2 separate regions of the Homo sapiens genome follow, and region 2 is linked to region 1. Evidence: promoter capture Hi-C in human tissues and cell types (Jung and others, 2019). All regions are on one chromosome and are shown on one strand. Each heading gives the region's core, a stretch centred on a gene start or on the middle of the fragment in contact. The rest is flanking DNA. Distances are from core to core; before and after follow the strand shown.

Region 1 (7,274 bases), core at 2,764-5,263:
ACGCCTGGCTAATATTTTAAATTTCTTGTAGAGATGGGGTTTCACAGTGTTTCCCAGGCTGGTCTCAAACTCCTAGGCTCAAGCAGTCTGCCCACTTCAGCCTCCCAGACTGATGGGATTACAGGTATGAGCAAGAGCCACCACCCTCTGGCCTTCTTAGATTTTTAGATCTTAGATTTTTTTAGCTTGCTTTTTTCATCCTTTTCCTATTCTGTTTAATATATCACTGATAATCTCTTAAAAATCCTAGAGTACTCTGGAGTAATCTACAAATCCCTGGAATTCACTGGATGTTTACACTGACCTTCTGGAAAAGTTATTAAACAAATATAAGATAATAATGGAGAAAATGGTCATTGAAACATCAGTGAAGGCAGAGTGAAGCCCAGAGCACTGGCAGTGGAAATCATTATGGTAATGGTGCATCTTGAAAAGCTAACCAGTCACTCTCCACTGCCTGTGGTAAAGCAAATACGCCTTACAAATCATTTCAGAGCCTGCCTTGGGCCTTCCCTAGCCCATATCTTTAGTTCCAGCTTCTACTCTCTTGGCTCTTTCACCATTGTCCAGCCCCTTAACTTCAACAGGACTCTATTTATATTGAACAGATTTGCTGTTCCTAGAAGGAGCTATGCTGTTTTGCTTCAGGCACTTTCATAAGCTGTATTCTCCTTCGGGAATATCCATCACCCAACTCTCTGTGGAATTCCTATTTATCTTCTCTATTTAGACACGATCTTCTCTAGAATGCTTTGCCTGACCTTCTGCCCTTCTGCCATATCTGGCTATAGGCTCCTGCTCCGTATTGGCCAAATGTTTCAAGACAGTTGCAATCACTCATTTATGTGTCTGCATATGCTATTGGACTGTACGCTTCTCGAGTGCAGAAATTGAGTCTAGTTTATATACTAAATGGTTTACATGGGGGACTAGCCTCAAGAAGGATGCATGTTTGATGACTGAAAGAACAAAGGACTACATAAATGGATGAGCAGGTTGACTTCTCATTTCATTCCAAAGTGGTTAGCCCATTTAGACAGCAATCTACTGCAGGAAAGAAGGAAGGTTCACCTATCATTTATTGAGCTTATTATGTGGCTGGTGCTGTGCATCAGGGAACAAATCTTTGATGTAAAGACCTTTTAGTTTAATAGAAGAGAACAACATTTACAGTAAGCTGAGACAAATGACAGGGTAAAGGTAAATGGAGGTGTTAGAGGAGTTCGCAAGAACACCTTATCTGTGCCTATGGGGGGCTGGGTAGGGAGTTGAGGGATTGGCAGGGAGAAAGTGATATTGAAATGGAGATCTAAAAACTAAACAGAAGCTATCCAGGAAAAGAGAGTATGTAAGGGTATTCCTGGTTGGAGGAACAACATATACAAAAGATTGGATACAACAAGAGAAAAGCCCTCCTGGGTCACAGAGTGAACTTAAAAAGAGCCAGGAGCTGGTAAACCACATGGACAACTTTAGACCTTATCCTGGGGAATAATGAAGAGCTATAGGAAGATCCTAAGTTTTAAAGTAAGATGATGAAATTTACACTTTAGAGAGCTCTCAGCCAAGCACAAGGCTACAAAGTCCTTGTTCTTTTTAAACCAGCTTTATGAAAGGTACCATTTTTGACATTTGCTTAGATCACAAATTGGAAAGTATTTTTCATGTCCAGTAGGAGGAGCCAAAGTCTCCAGGTTCTTTCTAACCATAGCAGGGCGATTCTTGGCCCTAGGTTGTCCTGGGAGCTGTCAACTTCAGCACCTCTCATTTATCTTCCAGTGGCTCAACATGGAGAAATGACAGGAAAAACTCTACTTGGAATGCGAAAGGTCATTGTGAGAAAGAAACTAATACTTTCCAAATGAATAGCATAATGGCATGCCATATTGATCTTTACTCTAATTTTGTTTTAAATTGTAATGGATGCCTCTCACACTCATATTCTTAAGCCATGTAGCAATACAGGTACCAGTGAGTCATGCCTGACACTCATCACTAATCTATCTAAGCCTATTTCTACTCTACAATAAATAAATCAGAGCAGACTCAAGCTGAACTTGATTTTCAGATAGATGAATATGTTTTATTTCCAATGGTAAATATATATATGTATTAAAAATAATCAAAGGGCCCAGCAATTACCCATTTTAATGTAACAACAGCTGATGTTACTGCCTTGAATGATTGCATTCATTTGTTCCTTTCTGGAATAAAAAATGAAGGAGAATAGACAAACAATTCCTGTTGGTGAATTTGCACAAAACAGTATATTCCAACAGAATTTCCCGTTAACTGCCATTTATTTCTTCTATCATTATTGATAATTTGCTTTTAAATTGAGAATACCTCTTTTACAACCCATCTCATCTCCCTGCATGGCTAGACAATTACATTTAAATTCGGCGGTTTTCCCATTGTGAACAGTTTCTGGGGGAAATGATTATGATGTTACCAACCCAGATTTATGGTTTCATTTTGCTATCACTGAAGGATGAGACTAGTATAAAGAAAAAAAAATTGCTTACATACAAATATATTATTATCAAAGAGAATCCTAAGGAAACATATGGTAAAAATCAACCCAAATTGCAAAATCGCTGGGACCAATGATAAAGATATCTTTCTGGATTTTGCAAACTTACTTTTTCAAATGATGATTAAATATTGCGTGCTTTAAAAAGTAATATAGTTATAGGCAGAAGTTCCCTTTCTTTTATTCTGAGGTTGAAAGAAACCGCAGCCCGATAGGATTGCAAGAGGAACCCTTAAGGAATCTGCTCCTTGATGGGCGCTAGGAAATACACGTACATCTAGTACAAAGGAATGCACATCACATGGCCCCCTGTTTTGGAAAGCTTACAGCATTTCTTATAAGAGGATCCATGGTATAAGTGCAAACACAGTCACATCACAGGATGGGAAAATGAACAGGCGCCTCAGATCAAGTGCTCAAGGCTGGAATCTGGCCTTGTCCAATGCCACCTGCCCTTCAGAAGGCAGGGTGGTGCCACATAAAATGAGGTAGACTGCCTGGGGAGTCCTGGTTCCTTGCCAGCTATGTGACCTTGAACAAATTACAACTCACTGAACCTCAGACTGACTTTATTGTACAACAAAACCCCCTGGAATATTTGTGGAAAAAAGAGGAAGGGAGAAAGGAAGGAAGGGAGGAAAGGAGGAAGGAAGAAAGGGAGGGAGGAAGGAAGGGAGGGAGGGAAAGGAAAAGGTAGGGGAAGAGCAGAGTTTCTCACTCCAGTCCAGAGTGGGACCCAGGAAGGGAGAAATATTGCTTTAATCTCTCTAAGCATCTGTGAAATGGATAAACCTCCAGTATCTACTTCCAGTTGTTGAAAAGACTCCATGTAAAGTGCTTAAAACAGCATCTGGTGGAAAGTAAATGCTTATTAAGTGCTAGTGTGTATTAAGGCGTCATGGGGCTTCTGGCTGTAAGACATCTGCTAGGAGGACAATCCCTAGACCCCTTCAGCGTCCATTGCGGGAGTAGGTGGCCAGGAAGGGGGCAGGACAGGAGAGGCCCAGCTGTGCGGGGTGGGGGCGTCCCAGGCCAGCCGCACCCACCCCAGCCCTGCATCCCATCCAGCCTGGAGAACTTTTTGAATCTTGGATAGGGCTCGATCTCTGCCTGGCCGGAAGATTTGAAGACTTGCCAGAAAACTTCCTCAGAGAAGAAATGGACTGGGGCAAGAAGCTGCCTCCACTTGGCGTCTCTAGTGGGGGATTTGTCTACTTTGATTGGGGTTGGGAGGAGGGCGCTGGTGCTCAATGAGTGAGCCCACCTGGGGACTACCAGGACGAGGACGGGCGCAGGTGAAAGTCCTGGGCTCATTGCCCCAGCATCCAACTTTCACCCTCTGTCCCCTTTAGGCCAGGAGACCAGGGTACCGGGTCGCGTGTCCGCCGCCGCCGCCCGCTGGAATCCAGGGCTGCACGCGTGACCGCGGCGGCGGCGGCGCTGGCGAGGGGAAGGGGGAGGGGGCGCTCCCTCGCGCACCAGATTATTTTTGGCTCCGCAGCCGGGGCTGCTCGCTGCTTGTCGCGCGCTCACACACACACAGACACACACGCACACACACACATGCACACATTTTCTCGCGCTCTCTCCGGCTCTCCTTTGTTTATTTTCTAATCTATATTTTTACTGGAAGATTTCCTCTTTATTCTCTCCCGCCCTCCTACAAGCGCTCTTGCTGGCCGTCTGGGTGCACACACCGCTCCCTCGATCACCCCAGCCCCCTTCCTGGTCTCCCGAGCGCGGGGTTTGAAGGTCACCTCCTTTCCAGTCCCCGTGCGAGCCGCGCTGCCGCCGCCTCCTCCAGCCAGAGTCGGTGGGACTGGCTGCGCTGCCCTGAAGTGGTTCTCCAAGCAGCGCGGAGGGTGGCGGACGGCGGACGGAGCCCAGGGGCCGCGTCGGGTGGGGAAACCCGAACTCGCGGAGGGGAATCCCTCCCCCTCCGCCCCAGCCCCCCAGCAGCACCCGCGGTGGGGCGGGGGCGCTCTGCCAGCCCCGGGAACAGCAGAGGCGGCGGCACTGGCTGGACCCACGCGCGCGCCTCCGGGGCTGAAGAAGGAAGGAGTGAGCCGAGCCGAGCACCCCACATCTGGAGGGGACAGCCAGCCGTGGGCCCCGCCCCGGCGTCCGGAGCAGGAGAACTCCGAGCTTCTTGCCCAGGCAGAGAGAGCAGGAGCGGACCGCGCGCCCGGGATTGAGAGTCCTTGCGCTCCAGACCCCCACCCAGTGGCCGCCAGGGTCCCCGCCTGTCCGGACCCTCGCCGCGCCCAGGCAGGCGCGCCAGGGCGGGGCTGACCTGCCCGCGAAGTTGCGGACAGTGCGTGAGAAACCAGCACCCCCTTCCGCCGCCTCCAGCTTATGGTGAGTGTGGCTGGGGGTGCAGAGAGCGCACGGGAATTCGGGGGTCTGGGGCCGAGAACGTGACCGCAGCCGGGCTCGCCGGGAGTTCTAGGTAAGTCCAGGCGGAGTCATTGCCTCTGCACCCACCCTGACCTGGTGGGTCAGGTCCAGAAGGTCTCATGGAGGGAAGCGCTAGGTCCCCGAGAACTGGCCTCCTCCTAGCGCCAGTCTGGGCGCTCTGGACGGGAACTTTTTCAGGGTGTGTGGAAAGATCTCGAGGCGTGTCCCCCCCTACCCCCAGGAGGCCGAGACCCTGAGCCCCCTTGTGCGTCGCTTCCAGAAGCACGTCCTTCCTTGCCCCAGAGCGCCCCTCCGAAGCATCCAGGCTACCTCGTCCGTCCTCCTGGGAGCGAGTCCTAGGTGCCAGGAGCAGCGGGAGCCTGCCTGCGCACTTTGATTAGTCTCCCTGGCCGGCTGCAAGCGTGCACTCAGCGCGCCCCCGGACCGCTGCCTCCGCCCGCAGGGTGTGCAGGAGGAGGCATCTTAGTGACCCGGGAGGGTGTTTAGGTGCCCCGAACCCCTTGTGGGAGGAGGGGAAGAGAAGGCTCACTTATGTGGAGAAAGCGCCGCTGTGTTTACTGGCACTGGAATCGATGCCCCGCGGTGCCACCTCGACCCCAGGGGAGGGGGCCAGCCGGGAAACCTGCGAATGGGAAACTCCTACTGTGCCCCTGGTTCCTGGGAGCCTTAGAGAACCTTCACCCCAGAGAAGGAAACACAGGGGTAGCAGATCTTAGCCCTGTGTTGTTGTGCAGGCCAGGGGGGGGCTTGTCAGCTCCAATCAACCAATTGTCCAGCTATGGAAGCGAGGGCGGGGCTAGTGGGGCGCCGCTCCCATCTCCCCACCGCCCAGGAGGCCACTTGGCTGTGAGCTCCTGGAGCCTCCCTGGCGCCAGCTGCGGGGACCAGGTGTCACGCGGAGCCCGGAAGCTGTCCACTCAGCAAGGGAGGGGAAGACCCCGATCTAACCTTGTCCTGGAGCCCCCAGCTCCATTCCTTGCTGCCAGGGAATGGTCAGGGGGCTGGGAGAGCTCATCGCTCCTGTGTGGGCCAGAGCTGGGGTGCACCTGCTGGCACTGGAACATCTGGGGTGCGGCTACTGAAGAGCTTGGAAATCCTGGTCAGGCAGTCCGGGCAATTGGCACCCCAAAGGCGGATCTTTTCAGTTGAACTTGAAAAGAAGTGGGGGAGTGTGGTGAAATAGCTTTGTTGAGTTGAAACATCATGTCTCCTAACTTGGGTTTTCCTTTATTAGAATAATGATTGTTTATTTTTATTTTTAAACTCCGTTGTGCAGAGAGGCCTGGCCTTGACAGCCCAAGTTTAGGACATGCCCCAGCCTGCCATCCCTTCCCTGCCCCCTGTCCTAGTTCATCTCCCCTCCATTTATCATTTTATCTTTGTTACAAAAGAGAGAAAAAAAAGATGAGAGGGCCTGGATTCTTTCAATTTTTAAGTGACCACAGAGGCCCCGGCTGGAGCTACTGGCAGATTTATTTTTAGCTAAGATCTTTTATGTTCAGAAGCAAAGGACCTGGGGCCTGTGAAGGGTAAAGGTGGTGCTGGCAGTGGCTGTGCTGGTAAAAAGTGGGGCTGACTCAAAACCTGTGTCCTCTTTGAGCTCGTCAGGGAGGCCCTCCGTTTGGAAGAATCCCCTGGGCTTTCCTTAAGTTAGCTTATGGTTGCCTCGGGTTAGGAAGAAAAGTCATCATTCCTCGCGGTAGTGGAAGTGACACCTTAGGGGTCCAGAGAGTGGAGCTTTATGGCTCAGAAGAGCACAGGGCTTCTGGATCCGTTATCTGCCAGCTGTGTGACCTTGGGCAAGTTGCTTTACCTCTCTGAGCTTCGGGTTGTCACCTGTAAAATCAGAGTTTCAGTCGTAGTTCTGTCCTCAGAGGGTTTGGGGGTAAATTACTTAAAGCACTAAACATTTAGAACAGTTTGGCACATGGTAAGTGCCTGAATTCTATGAGTTTTGTTTCTTTATTCTTTCAAGTAGATTCCTCTAATTTTTGAGCCTTGTAGCACCGAGTGGTACAGGAAAGGCAGGTGGCTTGCCTTATACACACACGTTTTCTTTTAAGTAAGGAACAGAAGCCTCAAGCTCTCCCATTCTGCTCTCTGCATGTTCCAAGGAGGATCACGGACAAGCTGCCCACCCACTGGCCAAGATATAGGTTGGTGGCATTTGACTTGCTGTCTTGACAAGCACCTGAAATTAAGTTTTTGCAGCAGTTGTACATTTCTTCTGACCCACTGAAAGGACTTGATCTCCTTGGCCCCCTGGGATGAAAGTATTACCTTAGCAAATCTGTTTTTTTTTTTTTAATTAGAACATCATTTA
Region 2 (7,274 bases), core at 2,009-4,508, 45 kb after region 1:
AGAATCCTTTGGCTGCAAGTAACTTCAAACCACTCGTACTACCTTAAGACAACAAAATATCCTAGAAGGACTCAGAGCTGTTTCCCAGGATTCAGGGGCAGAGAGTTCAGTCATAGAACCCAAGAGGAGGAAGTTCACACAGTTACCCCAGAAGAACTGAAACCAGGAAGGGAACATCTACAGGAGCAGAGATTACACTGTTTTTCCAGGGCTGCCTGGGGTTGGTGTCTCCTTCTGTCTGTGCCATTACCTTCCTTTTCTCTCTGTAGATTTCTTTCCCACATATGGCACATGGACACACGGGGCTGCCCTGAACCCAGCCCTGCCTACTGCAGTGATTACAATCCATGCATTCATTTACAGTTACTGAGGACAGAACCTGGTTGGTCCAGCCCTGCCCACCACACTGATTACGACCCATGCATTCATTTACACTTACTGACAACAGAACCTGATTGGCCCAGGTCTTTTCAGAAGTCACCCCTAGTCCAATCTGCTGGACCAGAGGAGGGTCATGGTTGCTAACCCACCCGGCAGCAGATACAGGGGTGGATTCTATGAGAAGGACAGGGACCCACTATAGCAATTGATTAATAGATCTAGAAAGTAGTGTGCGAAGTTACCAAACATATATGCCCAAATAACTAAGCTATAATAAGCATGTTCATCACTTCAGAAGACACAACTACAACCAATGGGTGTAAGCGACAAGTGGTCAGATTTCAAGTCTCAAAGAATAAATATCTGAAAATAGATAATTTTCATTATATGTCTATATAATGTTTTGTTATATATCTATATTGTATATGTATAGTCATCATATATGTATACATCTATTTTCATTGTATAACATATAATGGTAATATAGTATATTGTTACAAATATCTGAAAATATATAATGTAATTATTAAATTATATGATTATACTATACACTATAGTATATGTGCTATATTTACTATAATAAAATTAAGTATAGAAAATGAAAATTATTTTCAGAAATTTATTCTTAACAATATAAATAAATCTCTATGGATAAATCTATGTACATAGATTTAAGATATACTATCATACATAGAAAAAAACAGTGTTTTCACTTTACACTCACACTCATATAGCACAGAATACTTCTGTGACCAGATGTGCAGGGTTTTCCCCATCAACAACCAGTTCTCCAGCAGATACCAATGGGGTGTCCTATAATTCAGTGCCATTCTGACATTATCTACCTGGAGATAGCATCAGATCCCACAGATTAAGGATTCTGCCGCCAAGACTGCCCCCACTTTGGACTCCAGTTGGAAGCCTCAGGTTGTGACCTGTGCTTCTGAAGGACTGGTTAGGATTCCCATGTCCCTTCCCTGGGTTTAAGTTGATCGAGTGGCTTATAGAACTCAGGAAAACACTGACGTGCGTTTACTGGTTTATTATAAAGGATATTACAATGGATAGAGATGAACAGCCAAACGAGATGCATGGGGCTGAGCATGTGGATAGGCGTGCAGAGCTTCCTTGCCGTCTCTGGGTGCATCACCTTCTAGGTAGCCCCACTAGTTAAGAAGCTCTCTGAACTGTCCTTTCAGGTTTTTATGGAGGCTTCATTAAATAGGTTTGATTGATTCCATCATTGGCCATTGGTGATCAACTCCATCTTTAGCCCCCCTGCCCTCTCAAGAGGTCAAGAGGTAGGACAGAAAATTCCTACCCTCTAACTAGAAGGTAGGTCCCCCTGGCAACCATCCCCCATCCTGAGGCTATCCAAGGGTCCCAGCCATCAGTCATCTCATTAACATACAAAAGATACCCTTATCACTTTGGAGATCCCAATGGTTTTAGAAGCTGTGCTCCAAGAACCAGGTTCAGCAACCACATACATATTTCTTATAAATCACAATATCAAATTATATATTTGTATCTATATATGTATATATAACATATATATCTATAGAGATTGTATATATGTATATATGTTACATAATATATAAATATATATAACATATACATATATACATATCTATATGTATCTATACATAGATATATATCTATATATGTATATATGTATCTATGCATATATAGTTACATTTATATCACTATCTCAAGACATGTATCTCTTTGACTATCACTGTGTGGAGATATTTACTCTTAGGAATTGTCTCATGTGCTTCTAGGGGCGGCAAATATGAAATTTGTAGGGCAGATTAGCAGGCTGGAAATTCAGATGAGAGTTGATGTTGTAGTCTTGAGTCTGAAATCTGTAGGCCAGCTGGCTGGAAACTCAGGCAGAATTTCTGTGTTACAGTCTTAAGGCACAATTCCTTCTCCAGAAAACCCATCTTTGCCCTGAAGAACTTCAATGGATTCAGTGAAGCCCACCCATATTTTTCAAGGTAATCTCCCTGACATACAGTCAGCTGTGATGATAGATGTCATTCACATCTGTAAAATACTTTCACAGAAACACGTAGATGAATGTTTGAGCAAACAACGGGACACCACCACCTAGACTAGTTAACACATACGCTGACCATCCCAGCATCCTTTATCATCTTGATGAGCTTGATCACTTTGGAGCAGCAAGAGGGAAAGAAAACTATCAAGGCAGAGGCTGCCATGATCACCACATGATATGCCAACTTGCTAAGACATTGAGTTTCAATTGAGTCTCCCAGGCCAGGCTACCTTCCTCATGATGAGGGGAACAGGGAAATCAATATGGGTTCATTAACACTTAATTTAGGTTTTCCAGTGTGGAGCATATCAGGAAGAGAAATGGCAGACATATTACTTGTCTCAAGCATTATCCATCATTAGCGTCTGTTCTCTTTCTCCGACACACACACACACACACACACACACACACACACACACACACCCCCTTATATTTTTCCCCTAGTACCTTCCTCACTGATCATATTGTTCTGTTAACACCCACCACCAAAACTACATCCTGGGTCCTCTCCACACTGCAGCTCTCAAGACGATCGTTTACTCTATTATCAAGCTTACCATTTATTTTATTTTCAGGCGGTTGTATTCATTATAATGCCATTAGCATGAGAAGTGGGGTCCTGTCACCAGGGCAACCAGGAGCACAGAGTGCACATTCCCTCCTTAGCTGATGTCTTGTTCCCTCTTGGGTGGACTCCAACTGTGTCTTTGATTCATTCCATTAGGTGGTCACTGGGATGTAGATGCTTGACAGCCTCCTTGTCCTTAAGTTGTCTGTCTTTATATCCTTTACTGGCCAAGATTTCTCTCTCCAGAATTCATTAATTTATTACCTTTTATTTCTGTAAGCATAACACATATAATATTTCCAAGCATATTTAACCACATGATTATATCTTTACAATTCCTATAACCTCTAACCCTCTAATGTATTATTTTATATTACATATCTTGGTGCATTTCCCTATATATTGTACATATTGTATGCGAGTATGATACATTCCCCTTTTGGTCAGTACTACCAATTAATAACAAGCTCCTTACTACTGAAGGTATTTCAGCTACATGATCATCTGTCTAGGATATTATAGAGCCTATTCTTGCATTATGAAAGGGGTTGAAAGAGATGACCTATACGTTCTTTAAAAATCTGAAGCCCTAGGTTTATTCCATATCTATAACTGTCCTCCATGAATATAATTTTAGCTACAGTGGATCTCTCTAAATGAAGACATCTGGAGCATTCCAAATGCAAGCATGAGTGCAAAATGTCTGCTTGTAGTTTTCTATAACATCCTTCCTACCTCCACAAAATTACTTAGAATTTGTGAATAATTTCATTAAATTTATCTTTGGGGGGATACTTGATTAAGTAGTACTCCAAGTGGGCAATGTAGTAAGCAAATCCATTCCCACATTTTCTTTTCACATAGGCAGAATACATACAATTTTCTTTTTTTTATTATTATTATTTTTTTAGACGGAGTGTCGCTCTGTCACCAGGCTGGAGTGCAGTGGTGCGATCTCGGCTCACTGCAACCTCCGCCTCCCGGGTTCCAGTGATTCTCCTGCCTCAGCCTCCCAAGTAGCTGAGACTACAGGTGCATGCCACCACACCCAGCTAATTTTTTGTATCTTTAGTAGAGACGGGGTTTCACCATATTAGCCAGGATGTATACACACAATTTTCAGAAGGTCTTTTGTGTGTATGCTTTTGAATAATATGCCCCTGGATCTTGCCCCTCCATCAATGATTTCCAAACCTGACATTGTATTTGAATTGCACACACACACTAACTTGGATGTAGAAACATTTCAGATCTCAAGACATGGAGAATCCGAATCAACAGGTCTTGAGTAAGACCCAGTATCTGTAATTAAAAATTAAAAAAAAAACCTCCCTACGTGACTGTTTTTCTATATATTTCTTTTCTTTCTTTCTTTCTTTTTTTTTCTTTTTCTTGAGACAGGGTCTTGTTCTGTCACCCAGGCTAGAGTATAATGGTGTGATCCTGGCTTACTGCAGCCTTGACCTCCCGGGCTCAAGTGATCCTCCCACCTCATCCCCCAGAGTGGCTGAGACTACAGGTGTGTGCCACCATCACCGGCTAATTTTTTTTTTTTTTTTTTTCTGTAGAGACAGGATCTTGCTGTGTTGCCACGGCTGGTCTCAAACTCCTGGTCTCAAGCAATCCTCCCATCTTGGCCTCCCAAAGTGCTGGGATTACAGGTGTGAACCACCGCACGCGGCCCTATGATTCTTATGGATGCCTAGGAACACTGGGGATGTCTGTTTTCATACAGCTGGTGGTCACAGTTTCAGTGCTATTGTGTGTTCTTAGGTGGTTTGCTTTTCTTGCTGGCTTTCTTCATGGTCATAGATCATTTCAAAGCCTCTGATATATCATTGCGGTTTCCACTCAGTCCTCTGTCTGTTTCATTCCTAATTAATTACTTTGACATGCCCGTAACCTGCTCAGAAATCACTGGGGGTTTCTTAGCAGATACAGAAACAAATCTTCATCCTTCAAACTGGATTTCACGAACCTCCAAAGTTTCATTTCTCCTCGTCTTTGAGATGTGATATAATGTGGTTAGAAGACCTGGCTTTGAATTCTGCCCCTTCCTCTGTAGACCTACTAAGTTCCAGACAGTGTCTCTGTATCATCTCATGTAATGCTTATAACAGCCTCATGGGATGAATATCCCCATTTTATAGATGAGAAAACAGAGGCTCACTTAGCTAAAATCACTTAAAGCCTCAGTAGTCCTTGGGGTCTGGATTTTGCCTCCGAGGACTAGGGTTGTCCTCATATGAAGTGATTGCCTGCCAGTGTCAACAGAAGGATTCCTAGTCTTGATAATTTGGAAAGTGCGCTAAGCATGAGATCTTGAGATATATTTCCGACTTCAACACTTTAATGGTAGTATTAAGAGGTATAATTGCTCATGCCTGTAATCCCAGCACTTTGGGAGGCCGAGGAGGGTGGATCATGAGGTTAGGAGATTGAGACCCTGCTGGCCAACACGGTGAAACCCCCTCTCTACTAAAAACACAAAAATTAGCTGGGTGTGGTGGCATGTGCCTGTAGTCCCAGCTACTTGGGAGGCTGTGGCAGGAGAATTGCTTGAACTGGGGGGGTTGGAGGTTGCAGTGATCCAAGATTGTGCCACTGCACTCCAGCCTGACTACAGAGCAAGACTCTGTCTCAAAAAAAAAAAAAAAAAAAAAAAAAAAGGCATAATTCAGACGTGGCAGTTGAGAGGGTAAATAGAAAGCACTAATTAAAAAAAAATCCAATTTCTAAGACTGCAGAGCATCAGCTATTATTGAAAATGTAGACATCAGAAGGGAAAAACCCTTTGTTCAGATACAGTGCTGCTAAGTTAGATGCAGCTGAGAAATGGGAATACATGCAGTAAGGTGGTTATGCAGTATTTTTCAACAGTAGTCCACGGTTGAGCATGGATGCCATTTAAATACATTATCTGGAAAAATGTACATAGAACTTACGATTTTTGACAGCAGGAACTCATTATGCCAGAATTTGGATTCTCAGGATAGCTGAGCAGAAAGGGCAGGTGGAAGTCTCCCGAAATAGATGAGTGTTTGGACAAAAATGGCAGCAGGTATACTGTGCCAAGCATTGGCCTTTGCCCAGGTGCCGGGTACGATGTCAAGGATGCAAGCTGAAGCTGGCCATATGGTTCTCAGAGTCTCTCTGCTCATTCTGCCCTCCACTCAGAGGTAGAGACATGGGCTTTTCTTTATTTGCAGCAGAAGGTAATTGCTTTAGACTTAACAGGCTGCATTTGACCGTTGACTCACCATTATGGTGTATTATGAAATGAAGCCTCAGCCTTGGTCTCCCAGAGTAGGGGGCGGGGGAGGGCGGCAGGGAGAAAGGGTGGTGCCTGAACTATCAACACGGCACAGTTTAAATGTCAGGCTCTGCAATTTACAAGTGATCTGAGATTCATGGGAAATGCAATGGAAAAGTCACTGCCGAGTCCCTCTCCCTCATGTTATAAGATTGAGTGTGTCATAAATTTTGTGCATTGCTAAGTTCATGGTGCTTCTGTAAGAAGACATTAAAAATAGAACTCCTTACGTCCTCGATTCTTACCTACAGGGCATGCAGGCCAAAAGTCTACACACAGAAGTTAAGCTGGTTTTTAATCCTGTTTTTCGTTCTGGGGCTGTACTCTTAAAAGCCAAACACTTTTTCAGAGACATTCTGTGCCCGATATAGCTTCATTTTGTTAATAGCAGAAGTGAATAGAGGCAAAAACAAACCAACCAAACAAACAAACAAACAAACAAACACCCTGAAAATACAAGCGAATGCCTGGATAGGAATTCAAAGTTTCATTGAAAATAAGATAGAAATAAATCACTAACCGTACTTGTCTTACCTGTGTGATGTGGATATTACATAACTTAATATTAGGTAGAATATCCAAACTATTTTGATGAAATATGTTGGGAGAGAGAGATTTTTTGTTTCATCAGAGAGAAGTTTTGCTTTTCCATGAAGGTACAGCCTCAGCTTCCCTAGAGAAATCTTTCTCCATAGAAGGAATTATCTGCAAAGGGTGGGTTGCTGAGGGCTAAATCCATTAAAACCAATTTGAGGAAGAGCTGTTACTTGCTGAGGATGGGAAAAAAATATATAAAAAGCTCATTACCTAGAGCAAAATGATTGCTTTAGGATTAAGAAATTGACAGTTACTGTTTAATTATACCAGCCCACTGAAAACTCACAGACTAAGCTTTCTAGACACTTAAGCATATGTGCATTTGTTATTGTAGCAATTGGGGTAAATTT

The links. Contacts are between HindIII fragments. The study calls those that stand out against the background at their distance.
Region 2: a fragment that was not itself captured here is called in contact with the fragment with the promoter of RBFOX1 in region 1 in 4 of the 25 tissues and cell types used here (H1 embryonic stem cells, mesendoderm cells, neural progenitor cells and 1 more).

Annotation. Positions count from the first base shown.
Region 1 is chr16:6,015,011-6,022,284 of GRCh38, forward strand. It overlaps RBFOX1 (RNA binding fox-1 homolog 1), which reads left to right and starts at 4,014. Exons shown (of 16, transcript NM_018723.4): 1 at 4,014-4,982. The HindIII fragment of the contact is 10,336 bases long and covers 756-7,274 here.
Region 2 is chr16:6,060,638-6,067,911 of GRCh38, forward strand. All of the region lies in intron 1 of RBFOX1 (RNA binding fox-1 homolog 1), which reads left to right. Among named protein-coding and RNA genes, the nearest start is that of RBFOX1, 45 kb to the left of the region's middle. The HindIII fragment of the contact is 3,700 bases long and covers 1,409-5,108 here.